4 separate regions of the Homo sapiens genome follow, and all the other regions are linked to region 1. The links are contacts of gene promoters, found by promoter capture Hi-C in blood cells and fetal thymus (Javierre and others, 2016). All regions are on one chromosome and are shown on one strand. Each heading gives the region's core, a stretch centred on a gene start or on the middle of the fragment in contact. The rest is flanking DNA. Distances are from core to core; before and after follow the strand shown. Region 1 holds the start of SOCS3 (suppressor of cytokine signaling 3). Region 2 overlaps TNRC6C (trinucleotide repeat containing adaptor 6C). Region 3 overlaps TNRC6C (trinucleotide repeat containing adaptor 6C). Region 4 overlaps CYTH1 (cytohesin 1).

Region 1 (2,772 bases), core at 1-2,500:
CAAACTATCTACGTCAGTGCCAACGTGACCAGCAGCAAACCAATCTTTCACCTCAATCACTTCCTCTCCTCCCCTCTACCCCCTCCCCGCCAGTGATCAAGTCCTCCCCCACCCCAAGAGAGGCAGGGGGTCACATTCCAGGGGGTGTGGGCCATCTGGCAGTAGCCTGAACCCCGGAAAACTGCTTTCCGGAAATTCTCTCCTGCTAGAATTTTATTCCCAGGTCTGACCCCAGCCTGGGGTGTGAATGCCCCCTTCTCGGCCACCTTTCCAGCTCCGGAGACAGCCATTCCCGCAGATCCCTGGCGTGCCTATTCCAAGGCCTGGGCCGCGCAGCACCAAACTGCCCTCCCCTAGGAGACCCCAGGGCGCCCTCTGGCGGACGCGGGCCGTAGGTTGGGGCCATCGTTCCACCTCGAGCTCTCCAGCCCGGCCGAGAGCACCTGGCCCAACCCACACCGGACCAACCAGGTTTGCAGACCCCAGTGCATGAAAGCGTTTTCATAGGGGAGGGGAGGGGGGCTCCACACTCGCGTCAGGGTTGGCAAAGAACCTGGCAGTGGGCCGAGGCTGGGTAGCTGCCACGAAGGGGCGTCCCCTGCAGCCCTGGGTCTCCCCTCTGGAATCTGCCCGCAGGTGACTGTCGCACGTCTCCAACCTCCGGCTCCCGGGTCTGACCCCAGCCCCGCTGCCTGGCTGTGGGGTAGCCCCACTTCCCTTTCGGCTGGCCCGGGCCGCCTGACCCGCAGTTGGGCCCTCGGGGAGGCCCGGGTGGCGGCGAGGGGGTGTCCCCGCGGGGTCCGGGAAAAGGGGAAGGGGAACCGGGAGGCTCTCCAGGTCGGCCTCCTAGAACTGCCCGCTCTCCCGAAGCGGCGCCCCCGCCTCTGCCAGAAATCAGCCTTCTTAGAAGGGAGGGGGGTGGGGGGAAAGTGTGAATGAGAAGTTGGGGGCGGAGCGCGCGGCGGGGAGGGGCCGCTGCCAGGAACGCGCCGCCGGGGCTGGCGCCGCGCCCACCGGCCGCCTCGGCCGCCTCTCGTCGCGCTTTGTCTCCGCGCGCGTCCCTCCCGGTCCCTGCCCCTGCTCGCGGCCCGCCCTCGGCGCCCGCGGCCCCTCCCTCACCCTCCGCGCTCAGCCTTTCTCTGCTGCGAGTAGTGACTAAACATTACAAGAAGGCCGGCCGCGCAGTTCCAGGAATCGGGGGGCGGGGCGCGGCGGCCGCCTATATACCCGCGAGCGCGGCCTCCGCGGCGGCTCCGACTTGGACTCCCTGCTCCGCTGCTGCCGCTTCGGCCCCGCACGCAGCCAGCCGCCAGCCGCCCGCCCGGCCCAGCTCCCGCCGCGGCCCCTTGCCGCGGTCCCTCTCCTGGTCCCCTCCCGGTTGGTCCGGGGGTGCGCAGGGGGCAGGGCGGGCGCCCAGGGGAAGCTCGAGGGACGCGCGCGCGAAGGCTCCTTTGTGGACTTCACGGCCGCCAACATCTGGGCGCAGCGCGGGCCACCGCTGGCCGTCTCGCCGCCGCGTCGCCTTGGGGACCCGAGGGGGCTCAGCCCCAAGGACGGAGACTTCGATTCGGGACCAGGTAGGAAGGAGGAGCGCGGCGTGGGGAGGGGTCTCGCTCAGTCCCGGGAGCTTTTCCCGGTTTCCCCTCCCCTTCCCGGGTCATTCCCGGCAGGGAGGTGACGAGGTAGGGGCAGAGCGGATGGAAGCCGGAGATCCCAGGTTCCCGGAATACTCCGGCTGGGGCCTTCGGGCTTCTCCTGTCCCCTCCCTACCCCCGTGCCTCGGGTTTCTCCCTCCGTCCACACCGCCCGGGGCTACTGGACTGAGCGGCGCCCAGGCAGTCCCGGGGGCCCTTCTCCTGCTCCCCACCCGGCCACACTCCTGGAGACCTAACTTCCGCGCGCGAGTTTCCCACGCTGCGCCCTTGCAGTGCGCGCCTGGGAAGGGGCTGCCCGGGGCCACCCTGCCGGCAGGGGCGGGAGCCGTGCGGGCTCCGTGAGGCGCCTGGATCGGAGCGCGGGCCCAGGAGAGGGCCCCCGGGGCAGTGGGTGCCCCAGTCGCTCGGCGAAGGCAGGGGAGCCGGGGCGGGCCGGGCGCGCTGGAGGGTTCCGGGCACTCAACGCGCTCGCGCCTTCCTCTCCGCAGCCCCCCGGGATGCGGTAGCGGCCGCTGTGCGGAGGCCGCGAAGCAGCTGCAGCCGCCGCCGCGCAGATCCACGCTGGCTCCGTGCGCCATGGTCACCCACAGCAAGTTTCCCGCCGCCGGGATGAGCCGCCCCCTGGACACCAGCCTGCGCCTCAAGACCTTCAGCTCCAAGAGCGAGTACCAGCTGGTGGTGAACGCAGTGCGCAAGCTGCAGGAGAGCGGCTTCTACTGGAGCGCAGTGACCGGCGGCGAGGCGAACCTGCTGCTCAGTGCCGAGCCCGCCGGCACCTTTCTGATCCGCGACAGCTCGGACCAGCGCCACTTCTTCACGCTCAGCGTCAAGACCCAGTCTGGGACCAAGAACCTGCGCATCCAGTGTGAGGGGGGCAGCTTCTCTCTGCAGAGCGATCCCCGGAGCACGCAGCCCGTGCCCCGCTTCGACTGCGTGCTCAAGCTGGTGCACCACTACATGCCGCCCCCTGGAGCCCCCTCCTTCCCCTCGCCACCTACTGAACCCTCCTCCGAGGTGCCCGAGCAGCCGTCTGCCCAGCCACTCCCTGGGAGTCCCCCCAGAAGAGCCTATTACATCTACTCCGGGGGCGAGAAGATCCCCCTGGTGTTGAGCCGGC
Region 2 (2,834 bases), core at 172-2,671, 270 kb after region 1:
ATTTGGGAGGCTGAGGCAGGAGAATTGCTTGAATCCAGAAGGTGGAGGTTGCAGTGAGCCGAGACTGCGCCATCGCACTCCAGCCTGGGCAACAGAGCAAGACTCTATCTCAAAAAAAAAAAAAAAAAAAAAAAAAAGTAACGATAAGTGTACTTTATCCTCCAAATATAGGTTAAGAAGACAGGTGAATAATAGAAAGCTGAAGCTAATGCATTTTAGGATAATAGGTGGGATGAAATTTGTTTCTAAAACAGAAGCACTTACATAAGTAGCTGACATTTTACAAAGTGTTTGCTATGTGCTAGGCACTATTTAAGAACTTTACATATTAGGCCAGGTGTGATGGCTCATGCCTGTAATCACAGCACTTTGGGAAGCTGAGACCAGCAGGATCACTTAAGGCCAGGAGTTTGAGGCTGCAATGAGCTATGATCACGCCACTGCACTCCAGCCAAAAAAAAAAAGAGAGAGAAAAAAAAAAGAAAAAAGAGAACTTTACATATTAGCTCATTTAATCTTTAAAACAAACCTAGGAGTTAAGTATTTCCACATTACAGATGAAGAAATTAAGGCATGGCTCAGTATGGTGTCTCAGGCCTGTAATCCTAACACTTAGGGAGGATCACTTGAGGCCAGGAGTTTTGAGACTTGCCTGGGCAACATAGAAAGACCCTGTCTCTACCAAAAAAAAAAGAAAGAAAAATAAAGAAATTGAAGCAAACAGCAGCTAGGCAAGTTGCCCAAGTTAGTAGTGAGCCTCTTGGTGGTGAGTTGGGACTCAAACCTAGGGAGTCTAATTCCTAAGTCAGGTCTTACCTACTTCGACACAAAGGGCTCTAATGGATGAGACAATAATTAAGGAACGAGATCATCTAGTCTAGTATTTATCAATCTCATATTAAAGATATACCACATTTATAATATGTCAAGTAAAAAGGATTCATATGATTACAATATACCGCTCTTTTCAGAGACATTGAATAGAATTAGATAAATGAATATTATCTGCTGGCAGCAAATTCACTACCACTCAACTGGCCTTTGCCCCTTTACAGATGTATTTTCCAAGTTACCGATAACCCTTTGTCCTGTATCTACAGACTCTAATAGCAATCAACAGACAAGCCTAAAGTGCTTTCACTAACTTCTGAATTCTTACGGCAAATTAGTCCATGCAGAATCAATTTACTAATTTATACCCTCTGGTGTCTTCAGGTATGTGAGCTGTGTCTCTCCTGACTGGCCTGACCTCGAGGCCTGGCACCATGTCTTCTACTGACCTGCGGGTTTCAAGTGCTGAGTGTGCTTCTACAAGTTAGATTTCAACATATATATGTTGATTTGGTCGATTATACAAATCACATTTCATACAAAATGAGTTGTATCAACAACCACTGCTTTTTAAGAAGTGCTTTTAATGTAAATCTGAATACTTTTACTGACCAAACCATTATAAAGTCTTCTCTGTGGTTTAGGCTGGAGGACAGTGGCTGGTAAAGTACAGTTCAGAGTAGACTAGGAACAGAACAAACTTTGGAGATTTGACAATGGAAATGAGATTTTGGGGGCTCTGACTGGTACTACCTTTAAAGGTTTTATACTGAGAGTATTATTGGCAGCGGCAAAACTCCTGCTCTATACAACGTGGTTAGTGTTGTTCCCTTATTACAAATCCTTGAGGCTGGGCATGGTGGCTCACACCTATAAACCCAGCACTTTAAGAGGCTGAGGTGGGAGGATTGCTTGAGCCCAGGAGTTCAAGACCAGCCTGAGCAACATGGTGAGACCCCCATCTCTCAAAAAAATAATTAAAAAATTTTTTTAAAATTAAAAAGCCTTGAGATACCTGCTCTCCGATTTTGTCTGGGGCTGCATTTCCAACAGGCTATGGTTTCAGCGCTGGCCAGTCCTCCTAACCACTGAAATGCTGCCCTGGCTACCACATACGGACTCCAGGTACCCTCTCTACCTGATGTGGCTGTTGAAGACCATGGGACACTCACCGAGAGGGTAAGGAGCAAAGGTGTTGGGTGAAGACTGCTGCTCTTTGGTCTGCAGGTCAGGTAGGCCGGGAGTCTGTGGGTGCGAGGGGAAGCTGTCCATGGCCGATTTGCCTGCAGAGGGGTGCAGAGACAGGTGCGGCGGGGGCGGTGGCGGTGGTGGCTGCTTCACGAGCAGGGCCTGGGCCAGCTGGCGCTGGTGCTGCTGGATCTGCTGCTGCAGATTAGTGATTGTGCGCGCAACCTGGCAGGCAGAGACATAGGTGCGTTAACTAGGTGGGAAGGGACACTCATGGCTTGTCTAGGGACCAAATGCATTCTTCATTGTCTTTATGCTGAGGCCACTACTGGCTAGGCCAACCTCCTCCCAAACCTAGCTGAACCCAGGAATTTTCAAAGGAAGGCTTGGCTAGAGAAAAATCAATGATCATCTAATAGTTCATCAATTAGCGTCTCTTCTATCAGGGAAAATTATAGCTCATGACAAAAATCAATCTGGGTAGCACCTACTTGCTGCTCCTGTTGTCTCATGGATCCGGACACATTACGCTGGGCCTGTAACATCTGCTGCTGGATTTGTAAACGTTGGTATGCCTGTTGACAGAACGAAGAGTTAAAATAGTATGATAATTAAGTGTAAGTTGAACTAATGGTTCAACTTTCTGACATTAGTTAAAAAATAAAAAAAGAGAACCTAGCCACTCTTCTTGGCCCATACTGTGGCTGACACATACTGTTTTTTTTTTTTTTTTTTTTTTTTTTTTTTTTAGATGGAGTCTCGCTCTGTCATCCAGGCTGGAGTGTAATGGCGTGATCTCAGCTCACTGCCACCTC
Region 3 (2,984 bases), core at 314-2,813, 340 kb after region 1:
AAAAATAAAAAAATAAATAACCTATTCCATGTCTCCTCTCCATAATCTTTTTTATGATTACTGAATGAAAAGTTAAAATGATGCTATTTATCAAGAAGAAACAGGAACATATTAAGTATGGAGAAATGAAATCACTCTCTTAGAAACGCAGGTGCTTTTACTTTATAACAGCCTTGAGCTATGAGCACAACAGGACCAGTGAACGAGCACAAGCACATCAGGCTTGTCTGAATGCGTGGCCCACGCCCCTCCTGTGCCCCTCAGAGACGCCTTTGTGCTCTGCTGGCCCTCTCACTGCTAATGGACTTCAAGTCTTTGTACTCATTCTCCAGCCCTGGACTCTCTGGAGAGGTTGTCCATGCTCACCATTCTGACCATCATTTCTGTGCTACTGATGCCTGAGTACTGTCCCAGTGTTGCCCTCGAGCTCCAAGTCCAGCCTCCTTCTTCAGCTACCTACTGGACAGTGCTGCCTGAAGGAAGCTTTCTTTCCTACTAAACACATCCAAAAGTCAAACAAGAATTTCCTGGTCTGAGTCCAGGACTGTGTTGGTTGCCGTAGGAAGGCACTGGAGCACTTAGGTTTCTCACTTAAGTGAATCAACAATGAACTGGGGAAATAAAGAAGACACACAGAGTATTTAAAGCTTGTGCAATTGACTGGAAATCTCAGACAAGTGTAGAGGGGAAGGATGACCATGTGCTGCCCAGTACAGCAGCCACTGGCCAAGTGTGGCTATTGAGCCTTGAGGTCTAAATTGAGATGTACTTAGTATTAAAACATATACTGGATTCTAAAGACTTAGCACCAAAAAAAAGAGAAATACCTCATTAACAATTTTTCTGTTGCTTTCACATTGAAATGGCGATATTTTGGATATATCAAGTTAAACATTATTAAAAGTAATTCCGCCTGTTACTTTTTAGATGATGCAACTAGCCTATTTAAAATGATTCATGTGGCTCACATTTGTGGCTTCCATTATTTCTTTTGAATGGTGCTGGTCTAGAAATGGCATTGTATTATTGGAAAGGATAAAGTTTAAGCTAGTTTCTCAGAAACCGCTAAATAATTACCTGTTTTCATAAAGACTGAAAGTGAAACAGAGATTGAGAAACTACAAGTTGTGACAGATCACAAGCTTTTTCAGGTGGGAGAATTTCCCTTACAACTATTTACTCTACACTAAAGTACTAGCACATTATTTTACAAACAGAAAAAAATGCCACAAAGCATGTATTCAATTAATAAAAAGACCAAGGGTCCCGGAGTATAATGCAAGCATGGCACACTCAGTTTACCCACGTACTTGTTCTCACAGTGATATTTCCAGCTTGCAATGCTAATGCTATGGCTGGTAGTCTACAGGTCATCCTGGACCCTAAGAAAAGGGAAGAGAAGCCTCACTCAGCAAAGCAACAGACAGAGGAATGCGGAATTCTGACCCAGTTGAGCTGTACACCTCTGGGTCTCTTTTATATTATGCAGTGATAAACCTTCTGACTTAAGCCAGTAATTTTTGGATCTTTGAATCAAGCAGCCACTTAATAATCTGAAGGGATAAGTGGAAGATCTCAAAATCTGGATCTATTCTTGTAACACAGATAAATTAAATGGGCATTTTCTTTTTTTGTCTAGCCATAAACTCTTTTCAGATCCTCACTTATGGGTCTATTACTGTCTAAAAAACCAGGGCATCAAAGCAATCTTGACATTCCCCTTCTTCAAAAAGACCTGACTCTAGGGCCATACCTCACAGATAAGGACTCACATGGGAACCTACCCTTTTGCATATCAGCATTTTCATGCAGCAGGAGAATACAGGAAGGCAATGGGAACTTTAGTTTCTTTATGATTTTTCAACAAATCATTTGTTTTATTTAAGAAATATTAAGATAGCAACCATTTAATAACTACATATATAATTTTAAAAAACTTTCAGCAAGATGGAAATTTTGGTTACTCTTTGCCTAGTAAGCTTTTGCCTTTTGTTTTTTAAATGAGGGTGACATCTGCTGGTGAAAAGGTAGATGGTAACTCTTTATATAAGAAAGCAACAGTCTTTTAAAACAATTTTCTTTCCAAGGATTTTCTGCTTTCAGCTAAAATTTTCAGGTAGTGTTGTCATAACAGGGCCAAATAGAGAGATTCCCACATTTTGCTTTTTCTAAAATGACAGGCTACAGTATGGACACAAAGTTCAGGCTGCTGTCCCTTCAGACTTTGGAGAACTTGATTTTGAAAGAGCTCCTTTTCAGACTTTTCTACTACATTGTCATCTCTAAGATACCAAGACAGAAGGAACTTGCCTTGCTGACCCAGCCTCGTTAGCCTCCAGTCTACCCTTGCTAGGGTCTGAGCCTTTTCAAGTCCTGGCTGCAACCCCATTCTCTCTGCTTCTTTCCTAGCCATTTTAGTTGGCTTGAGTCTCATCATGCTCAGTCACTTCAATATCGTCATCTGTAACAGCCGAGGCCCCCGACCTTCCTTCCTTTCACTATGCTTGCTATCCATACTTCTGTATCATCCCAACCTTCAGTCATTTCCAGACCGCCTGACACTGCCACATGTAGTCTCAGAAACAGCAATGAGCTCTGTTACCTACTAACACTAGCATAAGCACCTGCTGCCACCAAGAATTCCTCTTACTAACCTAACATGGACTGCCAAAACCCCCCTCTTGTAACTGCTTAAAACTTTTCCTGCACTCTGGAATCCTGATGCCATCCAGCTTCTCTCAATCTATGGCCTGGATTTCTAGTTTATAGAGACAGTACTCACTCATTCAATAAATACAGAGGTTTTCTACAGCTCAGCCTCCTCTAGGCTGGGGCTGTATCAAGGAACAAAAGAGAGATCCCTGGCCCTGTGGAGCTCACATCTTAGTAGAGAAAAAGGATCAATAATAAACTTGATGTGTAAGTAAGATACATGGTTCACCAGGTGTAAAGTGCTGCAAAAAAAGGAAAGCACGGTAAATAAG
Region 4 (3,104 bases), core at 244-2,743, 320 kb before region 1:
ATAGAAACATTCTTAGCCAAGTGAGATTTCAGAAATGTTACCACCCACACACCCTTTCTCAGGATGCTGGTGGAGGACAAAGGCCTTGGCTGTAGGAAACCAGAGATCTTGAAACCTCTTGTTTCAAGAGAGGAGGGAAGAGTGCTCTGGAATGGAGAGTGCTGAGGTTAAGGATGAAGCAGTTTACCGAGTATCAAGGCAACCAGTCCAGACTGGAACAGGTTTCAGAGGCTCCAGGAAGGATTACTTCAAGAAATGAAAATTAATAGGATGCCTGATACAAATTAGCATTAGCAAGGAGATTTTGATAAGAGGTTAACCATTTGCAATTGGTTTTGGTGGTAAGGTCACAGAAATATAAATCAAAGGAACAACCCACTTCTCCACCCTCCATAATTTTGGTTCCAGTGGGGAAGGAAGCTTTTCAGGAAGGAAAAAATTAGGAAGTTCACTATATGGCACAGGTCGGAAGAGAAACGTGGTGTTAATGAAGACACTGTGTATAGCCCTACCTCAGATGACCAGATAGTTATTTTAGGAGGACGGGGAATATGAATATGCCCGGGTAAGAGGAGCTCAGTCCTCTTCTGTAGATAACATCTAAAATCAAGCAGTCAAAAGGCAGTTCTAATATGGTATTTTGGAGATGTGTGAGATACAGAGGTAAAGACCAAGCAGGTTGGCTTGAAGAAGTTGGAAATAGTTGCTAGCCAGGATGGGGAAATGGCTGAAAGACTCTTTTTCGCTTTTAGAGAACTCATAGAACTGGTTGGTTTTTTTTTTTTTTTTTTGAGACAGAGTCTTGCTCTGTCACCCAGGCTGGAGTGCAGTGGCGCTATCTGGGCCCACTGCAGGCTCCGTCTCCTGGGTTCACACCATTCTCCTGGCCAAATATAAAGACTTTAACAGTGCTAGGACTTGGCCATGGGTTGGCTGGATATCAGGGGACTGTGAAACTGCCGTCAGGCGTGTGCTGGAAGTGTCTGCGGTGCCGTGCCCTCTGTAGATGAGATGGGACTAGTTGGCGGGTGCAGCTCTGTTCTGGACAGGAGTCAAGGTGCCTTTGGAAATCCAGGTGGAGTTGTCAGGATGGCAGTGTCTCTGAGGATTGTACTGTCTGGCGGTGGGGCGATGGACAGAGGCAGTGAGTGGTTAATGGTCAGACCCACAGCTGCAGTCCCAGGCATCGGGGCGCTAGGGTGAAACTAGGAAAGGCTTCCTGGAGTTGTTGCCCCAGAACTGAGGCTTCAGAGGTGAGTGGGAGAGCCAGGCAAAGGGAAGAGGGAAAGGGGCCCGCACACTCCCTGCTTGAGGACCGTGCCCGGGTCACTGCCGGCCACACTCTCACGGTGTCTGTTGAATCTTCTGGTCTTTCTACTCGCGGAGGACTTAGCAGTTATATTGACAATCCTCAGACATTTTTGGTGTTATTCTTGTTTAGAATGTAAGGAGTTCCCTCAGGCTGATTTATGAACTTCATGTCCTGGGAGAAAGCAGGAAAGTTCGGCTGAGTCACCGGCGAGGAATCTGACAGTGTGTGTCCTTAAACTGTGATCTTAAACTTCCTCTCTTCAACTGTTCTGTAGGATAAGGAGCCCCGTGGAATCATCCCTTTAGAGAATCTGAGTATCCGGGAAGTGGAGGACTCCAAAAAACCAGTGAGTATTTTTGCTGAGATATTTTGAGGGGAGAAAGGGGATGGGCATTTCAAAGATTTTTTTTAAAAAACTCAAAACCAAAAAACTGAAAAGCGTGATCAGGCTTTTATTTAGTCTAATTTTTTATTATATTGTTCAAGCCAAAGATGAGACTCGAAATCACTTCTTCCTGTGCCGTCTGTCTGCTTTATCGTTTCACTTAGTGAATGTCACATGGGGTGTAGAAGTTGCCCCTCCTGCAATGGCAGCGGCAAGCACGCAGGAGTGGGCTATGTAGTTTATACCCTTGGGACACCTCCCGTTTAGTTTTCCTTTGTTTTGGGCTGTCAGGATGTTACTGGCTTGAAGTTAAAGTCGTGAGTCACCTGCAGTTCTCTCCGCATTTTACGTACATTGCAAGTGGGGCCAGCTTATATCAGGCCGGTGTGTTTGCAAACGAGACTGACTTCTATACAATTTACAGTCTCTAGAATTCCGCTTCTAGGCTTCACTTTTCCACAGGAAAATATGTATTCCTTGTATTTTGTGAAGGTCAGAAGAAAGGGGTTTTGGGGAAAGAAATCAGCATGTTTCTCAGTTAACAGCTTCCTTTGCTCCACTCTCTCCCTCTCTGTTTTGATTCTCAGAACTGCTTTGAGCTTTATATCCCCGACAATAAAGACCAAGTTATCAAGGCCTGCAAGACCGAGGCTGACGGGCGGGTGGTGGAGGGGAACCACACTGTTTACCGGATCTCAGCTCCGACGCCCGAGGAGAAGGAGGAGTGGATTAAGTGCATTAAGTAAGTGACTGCTGAGAAAGGGCAGTGCGCGCCTGGTGCAGCCCTCACCTCACCAGGTGTTGATCATCTTAGTGGTTAAACATGCCGCCCGCATCTCTTCTGTGCTCCAAGTTCTTAGGGAAGCTTCGTCCTGGTTCCCAGCTGACGGCTTCCCAGGAGGCCTTTGGATTCTTGGCTATTATAGCATATGTAAGAGAGCACGTCCCATCTGGGTTCCCCACGTGTCCTCATAGACCCAAAATAGGAAGAGGCGAGTGAGCTACCCACACAGATGCCATCTGCTCAACTGGTCTTTCTGTGTCTGACGAAGCCGCTCTCATTCTCATAGTGACAGCTCAGAGGAGATAGTAGTCATGTTCTGTAATTTGTGAATCCTGTGAGACACCATTTTCCTAGCTACAGATGAGGAAACTGAGGCCCATAGAGGTTAAGAAATTTGCTGGAAGTCACATACCGTGATCCAAGGTCCGGGAGGAGGGAGAAGCTTCCTCAGGGTTCCACAGCTAAGAAGTGGAGCTCCCAAGTCCAGGCCTCTGACTCCTACCTCTCGGCTCTGTTGGCTCCACTGGGCCACGCCATGTAAGGTCTATCACGGGGCTGGAAATTTCCTCATGTGACAAGTATCTGGAAACATGGCTTTCTAAAGTCAGTTGGCTTCTCTTGCT

Evidence for each region. The method cuts DNA at HindIII sites, captures the fragments that hold promoters and counts their contacts. A CHiCAGO score of 5 or more calls a contact.
Region 2: a fragment that was not itself captured here is called in contact with the fragment with the promoter of SOCS3 in region 1 in 3 of 17 cell types (M2 macrophages, M0 macrophages and M1 macrophages); the score reaches 6.6 in M2 macrophages.
Region 3: a contact is called between a fragment that was not itself captured here and the fragment with the promoter of SOCS3 in region 1, in 1 of 17 cell types (M2 macrophages). The highest score is 6.6, in M2 macrophages.
Region 4: a contact is called between a fragment that was not itself captured here and the fragment with the promoter of SOCS3 in region 1, in 1 of 17 cell types (monocytes). The highest score is 5.2, in monocytes.

The regions. Positions count from the first base shown.
Region 1 is chr17:78,358,555-78,361,326 of GRCh38, reverse strand. SOCS3 (suppressor of cytokine signaling 3) reads left to right here and starts at 1,250. Exons shown (of 2, transcript NM_003955.5): 1 at 1,250-1,577; 2 at 2,144-2,772. The coding sequence starts at 2,232. SOCS3-DT (SOCS3 divergent transcript) reads right to left here and starts at 879. Exons shown (of 5, transcript NR_110847.1): 1 at 554-879. RefSeq lists silencers at 349-398, 629-828, 889-1,198, 1,209-1,488, 1,899-2,138 and an enhancer at 1,246-1,894. The HindIII fragment of the contact is 6,903 bases long and covers 1-2,772 here.
Region 2 is chr17:78,086,263-78,089,096 of GRCh38, reverse strand. TNRC6C (trinucleotide repeat containing adaptor 6C) reads right to left here. Exons shown (of 23, transcript NM_001142640.2): 14 at 2,511-2,594; 15 at 2,004-2,244. Among named protein-coding and RNA genes, the nearest start is that of TMC6, 41 kb to the left of the region's middle. The HindIII fragment of the contact is 4,187 bases long and covers 1-2,834 here.
Region 3 is chr17:78,018,596-78,021,579 of GRCh38, reverse strand. All of the region lies in intron 3 of TNRC6C (trinucleotide repeat containing adaptor 6C), which reads right to left. Among named protein-coding and RNA genes, the nearest start is that of TNRC6C, 61 kb to the right of the region's middle. The HindIII fragment of the contact is 837 bases long and covers 1,145-1,981 here.
Region 4 is chr17:78,679,525-78,682,628 of GRCh38, reverse strand. CYTH1 (cytohesin 1) reads left to right here. Exons shown (of 14, transcript NM_004762.6): 12 at 1,587-1,658; 13 at 2,285-2,439. Among named protein-coding and RNA genes, the nearest start is that of SCAT1, 49 kb to the right of the region's middle. The HindIII fragment of the contact is 2,142 bases long and covers 423-2,564 here.